Linked DNA regions of Homo sapiens: region 1 is linked to region 2. The links are contacts of gene promoters, found by promoter capture Hi-C in blood cells and fetal thymus (Javierre and others, 2016). All regions are on one chromosome and are shown on one strand. Each heading gives the region's core, a stretch centred on a gene start or on the middle of the fragment in contact. The rest is flanking DNA. Distances are from core to core; before and after follow the strand shown.

Region 1 (5,544 bases), core at 1,181-3,680, 510 kb before region 2:
ATTTAAAAAATAGTGTTTTTTTAAAATAGATGAGGCTTTATCTCTAGAGTTTTGTTTTTGTTTTTGTTTGTTTGTTTGTTTGTTTTGAGACAGAGTCCTGCTCTGTTGCCCAGGCTAGAGTGCAGTGGCACAATCTCGGCTCACTGCAACCACTGCAACTCCAATGCTAGTGGAAAAAATGACAAAAGAAAATTCACATTTTATAGTGACCTCCTGGGTTCAGGCGTTTCTCCTGCCTCAGCCTCCAAGTAGTTGGGACTACAGGTGCACGCCACTGTGCCCGGGTAGTTTTTACACTTTTAGTAGAGACGGGGTTTCTCCATGTTGGCCAGGCTGGTCTCAAACTCCTGAACTCAGGTGATCCGCCTACCTCAGCCTCCCAAAGTGCTGGGATTACAGGCGTGAACCACTGTACCTGACCAACTCTAGAGATTCTAACTTAACTGTTAGCATACCTAGGCAGAACCTAGCTATTAGAATATATATGTATATATGTCCCAGATGATTTTCATATACAACCCAGGCTGGGAACTACTGAGATAACATAATAATAAGAAAAAAAATAAACAAAAACAAGCAAATACATAGAATAAGAAATGCTAGTGGAAAAAATGACAAAAGAAAATCAGATTTTTATAGTTGTTTCTGAAAAATAGAGGGGGAAATGCCCAATCAATTTTTGAAGCCTCTATAAACTCATTTTTAAAAAATGTTAAGAACAGCACATGCAGACGCATACACAAGTTATAGTCTTAGTATATGGATTTCAAAATTCTGTATAAAATTTTACATAAGTGAATCTGCTGTTCATTTAAATAAATAAATCATGATCAAGAAGGTTTTATTCCAAGAATCCAAGAATAATTCAAAAGTAAAAAACCTATCAAATCAATCATATTAATGGACTAAAAGTGAATAATAGTATCAACTGCCTCAAGAGTTATAGTCATTTGATAAATTTCAATGATTATTTATAACTTAAAAATCATCAGAAATACTAGGGATAGAAGATAACTTTCTTAACTTGAAAAAAAAAAAAAGGTGTGTCATACCTCCATGTTCTCTCAAGTGTTAATACTATTCTTTGACATGCCCTCTCTCCCTTTTACACCTAACTGGTATTATTTTCTCAGACTTCAAGATTCATTCATGCTATGCTTTTTTGGAAAATCTTTTTTGATCACAGTTTATGTGCTATGGATCTCTATAGCTTATTGTACTTCTGAGATTATTAATTTACTCAGTATACACCCTTTTCTGTGAAGACTTTCTGACTTCCCATGAACGTCTAGGTAACCACTCAATAATTTTTTAATGATACCAAGAGAGACAGTTGAGTCAGGTGATGTGAGTTCAAATTCCAGCCCCACCATCTTCTAATTGGGTGACTTACTCAACCTACTCAACCTATTCAACTAAACTGTTGTGTCATGGATGGAGTGTTTGCTGGCCTTCTCACTTCTCATATTCCCCACTTTGAATGCTACTGGGTTGCAACCACTTTCTCTGTGACCCTACAAATCACAATATATGTAATTCTAAATACTGTACTTATATGTTAATTACTAATTGAGGGTTTTTTTAAGTTTCTTTAATATAGGAACAATGCTTTATTTATATTTACCAGACACTTAGCATAATACCTGGCACTCAATAGGTGCTCAGTGAATGCTTGTTGCATGACTATTGTTAACTTTTCTTTTAAAATAAAATATAATATAGTTAATTAAGAACTGAAGATGACAGATTCTCATGTTCACATTAAGCAATTGCTTGATTTGGCTTATGGGAAGACCTGGAAATAGCTTTGGGAAGGTTGGGTTGGTTAAAGGCCTTGGGCACTAAGAACAGTGAGATTTTCTAAGCTTTCTCCTCATTTGGCCTCTCCTCTAGGTAGGTTTCTCTGACCCTCCCACTGGTGCTAAGTTCCCTCCTTTTGGCTTTCTTAATACTTTGTGGATATCTAGTTGTGGCATTTGCCATATATTATAATTTCAGTTTGCTTGCTACAGTGTAAACACAGAGAGGAAATGGCTCATGACTGTAATCTTTTTCTTATGCATAATAGATGTCCTATAAATGCTTGACAAATGAATAAGTATGATTAGATTGGGAGGGATGAGGCAAAGGCCTTTAAGAATATTTGATGACACCTTGACATCCTCTGGCATCACAATCCCAGATCGAGAAAGACATATGTAAACATTGAATATCCATTAAAATTCAAATATCCATATAACACTTGTCCAGGACATATGCTTATTAAGAAAAGAGAGTGAATATATCCAGCAATTTAAAATAAGATCCCTTAAAATCAACAGTTCACTGCAAAGTAAGTGGGGTAGCTGTTTATTGGATGAAAAAGACAGGAAAATTGATGGATGCAGGTAGAGAGGACTCTGGGCAGAAGAACATGTAGTTCTGCTTTTATAATCACTTCGCTAAAAATACACATATAGAGAACACAGCTGTTAGAAAGGACATCACAATAATTATAGGACTCAGCATTAAAAGCTCTCATTGCTTAATAACCAATTCCTTTAAAAAAACAGAGAAGCAGCTCATAGATAACAGTTCATGAATTCAATCAATATTCATCATCACCCTGTACAAAAGCCTTCAAGCTCATTGTTACTCATGTGTCATGACACATGTGCACATACACACCACACACAAACACACACACACACATACACACAATTTCTTATTTAAAGGCAACCAGCACAGAAGATACATTTTAAAAACCATACCACGTCGAAGTTGGAAAACAAAATAAAGCACATCTTTCTGAGTAGTGACCACCTTGTCTAACTTTTACATATACTATATATTTAGTTACAATAATCTCAAGTTATGGTAATTTTTTCCCCTGGAAAACCAATACTTGATTCAAAATTTGAATTTTATATGTTTAACATAGAAGTGTTTTTATCTCAACAGTTCTCTTCCAAAGAAAGATTAAGAACAGTAAATCTATGCCTTCCAGAAAGCTTAATTTTCAAGGATACCCTCCTAAGTTATTAAATGAGCATTTATTTAGCACTTACTTTGTTCAGAGCAGCATGGGAGGCATTATGATATAAACAAAAGAGATAGAAAACAAGTTTTTCATAGCCTTGGATATTTCAAATACAGCTGGAGACACATATATATGATATTATATAGTTATAGATTTAATATTTTATGTATACAATCTGAAGTACTTATCAATGGATATATTAAACTATAGAAAGATAAGAAAAGAAATACAAAAAAATACAAGTGTTGGTCTGTATAACCTCTTCTCATTTCAATAAATCCTTCACTTTCCTGAACAAGTTATGTTTCTGATGGCATTAAATACTAAACTGGTTCTCTATTAAAAAATATTCTAAACTTCTCTGCACAGTATCCATAGCACTCTGACTTGTACCAACTCACCTCTTCAGCCTGTTACCCTGTCAATAGCCTTCCACATCCCATGGTTAGAGGTTCTTCAACTTCTCTGATCATTCCACATTCTTACATTCTTCCCTCCTTGAATTTTAGCCTGGACAGATTTTTTCAGCCAGCCCGGGATGCTCTTTTCTGTGTGCGTGTGTGTGTGTGTGTGTGTGTGTGTGTGTGTGTGTGTGTGTGTGTTTATGTTTCCAAGTGGAGCCTCTGCTCAATATTCAAGGCTCAATATAGAGATAATCTTTGAATACTTTTCTTACTTCCCATGAATGCCTGTGTAGCCACTCTGTGTTGTTGTTGTTGTTAAATGATGCCATGAGAGACAGTAGATGATGATGTGGGTTGAATGCCAGCCTCACGATCCTCCTAATTGTGTGGCTTTGGGAAACTTAATCTCTCTAAGCCTCTGACCTCTTATAAGTAAAGTGAGGATAATAATAGGACCTATCTTAGAGTTTTTTAAAGATTAATAAGAACATAAATATAAAGCACTTAGCATAGTGCCTGACACCTAATAAATATGTTCTAGCCAATATTTTTATTAGTTTATTTTGATGATGGTTGGAAAGAAAATCTCTTCTTGTAAGATTTAACAGAGAAAAATGTATCTAGATAGGGTAGAAGAAGTGACAGTATCTTATGCAAGTGTATATGATTAAAACTATAGCAATTTAGAACTATTTTTCATTAATTCATTCATTTAACAAACATTTTATTGACAACTTACTCTATGTTGGTCACTGTGCTTGGTATCGGGCATACAAAGATGAATATTACACAGAGACTGCCCTCAAGACTAAAGGGAGAAAGAGAGATAAATATGTATGGATATATATGCATTATAATATATCAAAATGTAATATAATGTGACAGATGCAGTAATAGAGATATGCCCGGACATTCCTAGGAACATAGAGAATGGACGTTTAACATAGCCAGCTGACAGGGCAGGGAAGACTTTTTAGAAGAGGAGGCAATGGAATAATATTTAAAAGGATAGCAAAGGTTTAACTCATTGGAATGAAGGAGGTGTGCCTGAGCTGGACTCAGGGAAAGGATCAGCACAGAGGGCTCAAGGATGAACGTGGAGTTGACTTAAAGAAGAAGGTGGAAAGATGCTCAAAAGTGAAGCTCAAGTGGTATGAAGAGGCCAGAAAGTATAGGTTTAACAATGGAACTTTGTGCTTATCTTAGAAGGAATGGGGAGCCATGGACGAGACATCTTTGTGTTTTAGGTAGGTCTCTCTGAAAGCTTGGGAGAAGTGATAAGACCAGAAGGAGAGAAATAATTTGGGAGGTGGTTGTCACAGTGCAGACAAGAGACAAGGATCTGAAACATGGTATAGTGATGGGACCATGTCAAAGGTGAGGGGATGGATTGGAGACCTACATGTAAGGGAATATTGGCCAAATATTTATTTAATCCGGAGTGTGAAAAAGACAAAGGAATTGTCTGACTTTTCTGGTTTCTAGCTTGAGGGACTGGGCATATGACAGTGGAAATATGCCAGTTGAAATGGAGAAAATGAGGGGAGAGCAGTTTTAGATGGAAGTATGACAAATTTAGTTTTGTATACATTGAGTTTGATATTTTTATGGGACAGATAAGATGCATTTGGACATATTCTTACATTGGATTCTTTGAATTGAAATGTAGCTTTGGGAGTCATTTGCATATAGCTAGTAATACAAATGATAAAAATTTACATGAGATCACCTAAGATGCAGGAAGAGTAATTAGCATCAAAAAGCTGTGAACCAACAACTAACTTTGGTGAACACCAAAAATTAAGGATGAGAAAAACAAGAGAAACCCACAAATAAGACAGGAAAGGAATACGAGAGATTCAAGATGAGCCAGAGGTATCCAATGAAGAAAGGATTTTAAAAAGGTGAGAGAGCTAAACAGTGCCAAAAGCATCACAGAGGTCCAATAAGAATAGGACTAAATAAATGTTCATCAAGCTATACAGCAGTTTATTGGAGTGGCTTGTGAGAATAATGGGTCTTTAGGAATTAGGGACAATGGTAGACTATTGCTTTGAAACTTTTGTCTGACATAGGTGCCCTAATTTGCTAGTGTTTACATAGGTAGAGATAGGGAAGATT
Region 2 (5,618 bases), core at 158-2,657:
GAATGAAAGTGGCTGACATTACTTGAGAACCTCCTATAAGCCAGACATGGGCCAAATACTTACACACATTATCTCAGTTTAGCTTCACTACAATCTTATGAGGAAGGTATTATCCCATTTTACAAGTGAGAAGACTGAGCTTTAAAGGGAGCAACTAGATGAGGCGAGGTTCTACTGTTTATGAGTGATAGAGCTAGGATCCAAAACCAAGGAACTCTAAGGTCTGTGTTCTCCGCTGCCTGCTCGCCAGCGTGCATATTTAACGTGGAGGGGTAGGAGGGTGGCAGGCATGGCAGTGAGGGGGGCACTAAGGCACCCACCCAGGAAATAGGTGGCTAGATCTCGACCACAGGGTGCCAGCTGCAGGCTGCAGGAGAGGACATGTGAGAAACACGCATACAGAGGTAGCACCGGAGACGAAGTGGGATCTGGCAGCGAGAATGAAGGAAGAGTCGCGGATAACAGCAGCTGTCTGAAGAGGTGGTGATTCCATCATGCAAGCCAATGGGTAGGAACAAGCACTGAGAGCCGGGCAGGGGGATGCGGAGTGAGGGAAGATGCTGAGGTCAAGGTCTCCCAGGCTACCATGGAAGGAGCCAATGGGCAGCTAGAGATTTAGGTCTGGAACTGAGAGAAATAATCAGCTATGAAGGTACAGACTTGGCCACAAACATATTGAAGGCATGAGAGTGGTTGAATTTGTCCAGGGAGAATGTGAAGAACAGAAGGTGATAGAACTGTAGCAAAACCCAACTATTGAGGAAAATATTTTCATGCCTGCAAAAAGAGAGAGATCGAACTGCCTCCTTTAGAAACCTACTTGGGAAAGGGCTTTCTTTACAAGTAAGGCAAGTTGTCATTACTGGTGGGGGAAAAAAATTGGTACTGCGAAACCAACTTATTTCCTACCACATGTGAGGTTTTGAATAATATCTGGGTGGCATATTTCTGCTGAAGAAAATAAGCCAGTTCAATGGTGTATCTATTAAATAAAAATAGTGCTAATAGTTTATCAGAGTTATCACCACAGACGTGCCTAGCCACCCTGAGCCTATGTGGCCAATGTCAGTAATTCCACTCTGGACACAAACACTGTTGGCTTTGGATGGAAGTGCCGGACACTCACAGCACTCCGAGGACATACTGTTTTCTAGCCTTATTTATGTTCTCTCTTCACCCTTCAGCCTAAAAAATTACCACAGTGCCACTTACCTACCTTAATGGGAATCTGCACAAAAGGCCATTTCTCCAGTTTCTCTCAAAAGCAAAGGAAAACTTCCCAATATTAATATGTAGCAAAAAGAGGGAGAAGAAAAAGCCTGTTTGGTCCGCCCTCCTGGCTGTTGCTACCTTGCAGCTTATGACATACACATAGAGGGAGGTCTGATGAAATGAACGAGACAGTCAGAGAGCTACTCCATTCCCGTGGAAACCAGGAGTCCCTTGGTGCAGACAGCTCTTCCTACTTTCCCATGCAGTTCTTTTGTGCGACTTTGAGGGGCTCGTGAATGATTTCTAAATGTGTGCCTGCTGAGGCGAGCCGCACAGGGAGGGAGGAACCCAGCCGAGCCGTGCCAGAGGAAGCCAACAGGATCCTAGCAGTGCGGGAGCTGGCTCAGCTCTTGCATGCAGTTTTTGAAGTCAGCAAAACAGAAACCAAATTACTATCATATTATGCTGGTGGAAGATCAAGAAGAGGGGACTCTACACCAGTTTAATTACTGTGAGAGATGCAGCGAGTCACAGAATAACAAATGTATCTCATGTGTGGACCCTGAAGACAAATGTAAGTTCTCATGCCGCTATATTTTATTGCTGTGTAATTTTCTTTCCGGTTTGAAATCATGCTTGGCCAACATGTAATCATTTCAATGAGAATTTCCAGGGAGGAAAGTTGTCTGCTAATCTTTACTTAAGACTTTTTTGTTTTCCTTTTATTAGCTAAGCAACATTATAGGAGCTGAAATTCCTGACAGCAGCTGTGGCAATTCAGCTTAAGAATGGCTGAGAACTGTAACCCAAAGTACATCCAATTACTATGGGATTAACACTGGATGTATTTTTAATTGACTTTCTTAATGTAGAATGTGTACATCCCCACTGTTTCTGATTGCATGCTATTTTAATAATACTGTTGCTAAACTAGTACCATCGGCATAACCAACAAAATGAGATATAGTTAAACAAGAGTCCCAGTAGTTATAAAACTTTTCTTCTTTGTCCAGGACATTTATCTTCCCGAGCGCTCAAAAAAAACCCTGCAACCTCTATGCTAAAAGTTCATTCTGCTTTTTTGTCCTCGGTTTGGTGAGAAAATAATAAAACCAAACAGTGGACTCTCCTAAAATTGTGAATGAAGAAAACTTACAGCCACCACAGTTCAGTTCTTTAACTATCATTGTAATAATGGAAGACAAAAATCCAGCCCCGGGAGAACAGCATGTACACCAGCCTCAGTGTTACAGAGTGTGGGTACATCAAGGTGAATGGTGAGCAGAAACTATAACCTGTTAGTCCTTCTACACCTCATCTGCTACAAGTTCTGGCTTAGACATGGATATTCTTTGTGAAGAAAATACTTCTTTGAGCTCAACTACGAACTCCCTAATGCAATTAAATGATGACACCAGGCTCTACAGTAATGACTTTAACTCCGGAGAAGCTAACACTTCTGATGCATTTAACTGGACAGTCGACTCTGAAAATCGAACCAACCTTTCCTGTGAAGGGTGCCTCTCACCGTCGTGTCTCTCCTTACTTCATCTCCAGGAAAAAAACTGGTCTGCTTTACTGACAGCCGTAGTGATTATTCTAACTATTGCTGGAAACATACTCGTCATCATGGCAGTGTCCCTAGAGAAAAAGCTGCAGAATGCCACCAACTATTTCCTGATGTCACTTGCCATAGCTGATATGCTGCTGGGTTTCCTTGTCATGCCCGTGTCCATGTTAACCATCCTGTATGGTGAGTGGCATTAGTTTCCCAGCTATATTCGCACTGGTAATAAAGAGCATGTGCATGCCACCAGCAGATGAGATGGGGCTCAGGGGGCAAACAAACTATAAATAGAAGTCTTTGTTTATAGACTAGAGCCTACTATGTTACTTATATTTTACTCTTAAAATGGGATTTCACATAAAAATCAGACAGTCTATGACCTGTGATCACTGGAGAGTTTTGTGCTTCAAAACGCGTACATCCTGTGTAAAAATGATCATTGGAGAGTTTTGTGCTTCAAAACATGTACATTTAATGTAGAAATTTTTATAAATTACCCCATACAGTCATAAACCAATAACTTACCCATCATTCTGAATCTACTTGATTTTTGCTTCTTTATATTCCCAACCAATATTCCAGCCTTCAGGACAGAACAGTTTTAATCTTTGTCACACAGTTTTCAGCACTTTTAATGGAGTGATAAAGCCTTCCCAATTACTTTGGAACATTTGCAGAGAGAACATTAGTGGTGCAATAGGTTTTATGTTAAAATATGCAGAACCTCAATTAGAATAAATGAATTACTCCAGTTTTAATTGTTCCCTGCCCAGAGAAGCTAATTTGGAAATGTGCCTTTGAATTATATCCTCAACTCTTTGAAAATGCATATGCATAAACTCCTCCAGTCTGGTTTGGAGGAGGGTGGGAAACAAATGGGAAGGGATTAATCTTGCTTTCTTCTCAACAGAGTTTGAAACAGTCAGACCTCTCAGCAAGGGACCAGAATGTGATATTCTTTCCAAATTATGAGTAATACAGCCAGATACCTCCTTAAAGGAGAGACTATTGTGACTGCTGACACAGGCACAAGCAGCAGTCACTCAGAGCTTAGAGACAGGTTATGATAGCTATCTTTAAAGGGAAATTTTCTGGTCAAGTCTTAGGGGCTAAGATTAAAAAACATCAACCCAGCCCTAGAGAATGTGAAGGAGGAAGGCGGTACGCAAGGGCGAGCAGGCGCCAGTTTGCACAAAGCTAGTAACACTCATTCCAAGTCCAGCCTTCACTTGACCATTTAAATGCCACACCGGAATGATTTCATTTAATTTGCCTGCCCTTTCCCCGGCATCCCGGGGAAGATTCTCGCTTCCCAAACCCCCTCCCCTAGGGGGCAAACTCCAGTGGGGGTAGGAGGAGTGACAGAGCGGGACCCAAAACAGAGGCTGGAGGGTGGGGTGACCCCCGGCGTCACCCGCTTGGGGAGCAAGGGCGCCCCCTGGCGGCCGCCGCTCTGAGAGCAGCCCGTTCCCTCCGGAGCCCCGCCCCTCCCTAGGCTGCTCCTCCAGCCTCCCCCAGCCCACGGGGCGTGGGGCATGGGGCTTCTCCCACAAGGAAATGCCCCCTCCTTATCCCGCATCAGAAACACGGACTGAGGCCTGGGCCGCCTCCTGGCAGAGAAACCCCTCCGAGGGCCGACATCTGTTCCGAACAGACAGAGCGTGGCTTCCCCCATAAGGCGCTGCAAAGGAAAAGGCTTTCCTTTCGGCTCAAGCTCTTTGCAAATAATACATGTGAATGGCTGTAAATTAGGCTTGTACCTACGCCCTTTACTTGTCTAAATATCCCTTGTGGCATTTTGGTAGAGAGTGTACGTTTGCGTTGGAGTTTGTTCGGCTTTGTGGGTCTGTAATAAGAAAAGTGGACTTTAAAATTTTCCTTCTTACATGCAGGCAGATCTAACTCCGCTGCTTATACTGTGATCAAAACTAATTAAGGTTTACATAACTGCTTAATCCCCCTCCAAAACACAAAACCAGGACACTTTGTTTATGTCCATAAAGCACACTCTAACCTTCCTCATATAGCAGGTGACCTGCAGTATCTCTTACATTGGAATTGTCTGGGGAGCTTGGAAAAAGCTTTGCAAACGCTTTGACATTTGATGTCCACCTCAGCCCACCCTCCAAACATGATTTAATTGGGCTGGGTTTGGCATGGGCATCAGGACCTTCTCTAAAGCTCTCCAGCTGATACTGATGTGCAGCCAGGGGTGAGAGCCACTACCCTAAAGCAGCTATTCACAAAGCGTGGTCCCTGGACCAGCAGCATCAGCATCACCCGGGAGCTTGCTAATTCAGATGCAAATTCTACAGCCTGCTCCCTACTAACTGCATCAGAACCTCTGGACGGAGGTCCAGCAGTGTGTGTTTTAAGAGGTGTGGCAGAGTCTGATGCTCACTAAAGTTTGAGAAATGCCTCCCTAAAACAAAGCTCAGAGCAAGGACACCTTTCTTTATTTTTCTTCACCCTTGTCTTCAGCTCTCCCTACACATACCCCAAATTTGAGTTTGGCACCCAAAGCATTATTAGATCATTATTTTTCATTTTTACAAACAGACATATTCACAATCTGAATTTTTAGTCATTTAGTCATTTGCACTAATGCAATTTATTGCCATCACTGTATGGGACTGGATGGTTATAATAATGACTAAGAGGTGAGACTAACCTTAGGGAAATACAATCCAGAGAAATATGTGACTAAATCCTGACAGTACAGTGTGAGAGGTGCTCCAGAAGAGGAGCCAAAACACAAATTTTGACATAAGCCATTAACAAAAGAAATGTTTTGCCAGGCGTAAGGGGGAAGAAAGAGAACCCCCAAATAGAGACCATC

The links. The method cuts DNA at HindIII sites, captures the fragments that hold promoters and counts their contacts. A CHiCAGO score of 5 or more calls a contact.
Region 1: a contact is called between a fragment that was not itself captured here and the fragment with the promoter of HTR2A in region 2, in 1 of 17 cell types (M0 macrophages). The highest score is 5.8, in M0 macrophages.

The regions. Positions count from the first base shown.
Region 1 is chr13:47,401,374-47,406,917 of GRCh38, reverse strand. No RefSeq gene overlaps it. Among named protein-coding and RNA genes, the nearest start is that of HTR2A, 510 kb to the right of the region's middle. The HindIII fragment of the contact is 1,125 bases long and covers 1,868-2,992 here.
Region 2 is chr13:46,892,842-46,898,459 of GRCh38, reverse strand. HTR2A (5-hydroxytryptamine receptor 2A) reads left to right here and starts at 1,407. Exons shown (of 4, transcript NM_000621.5): 1 at 1,407-1,786; 2 at 2,226-2,965. The coding sequence starts at 2,554. RefSeq lists a silencer at 4,097-4,306. The HindIII fragment of the contact is 5,377 bases long and covers 1-4,862 here.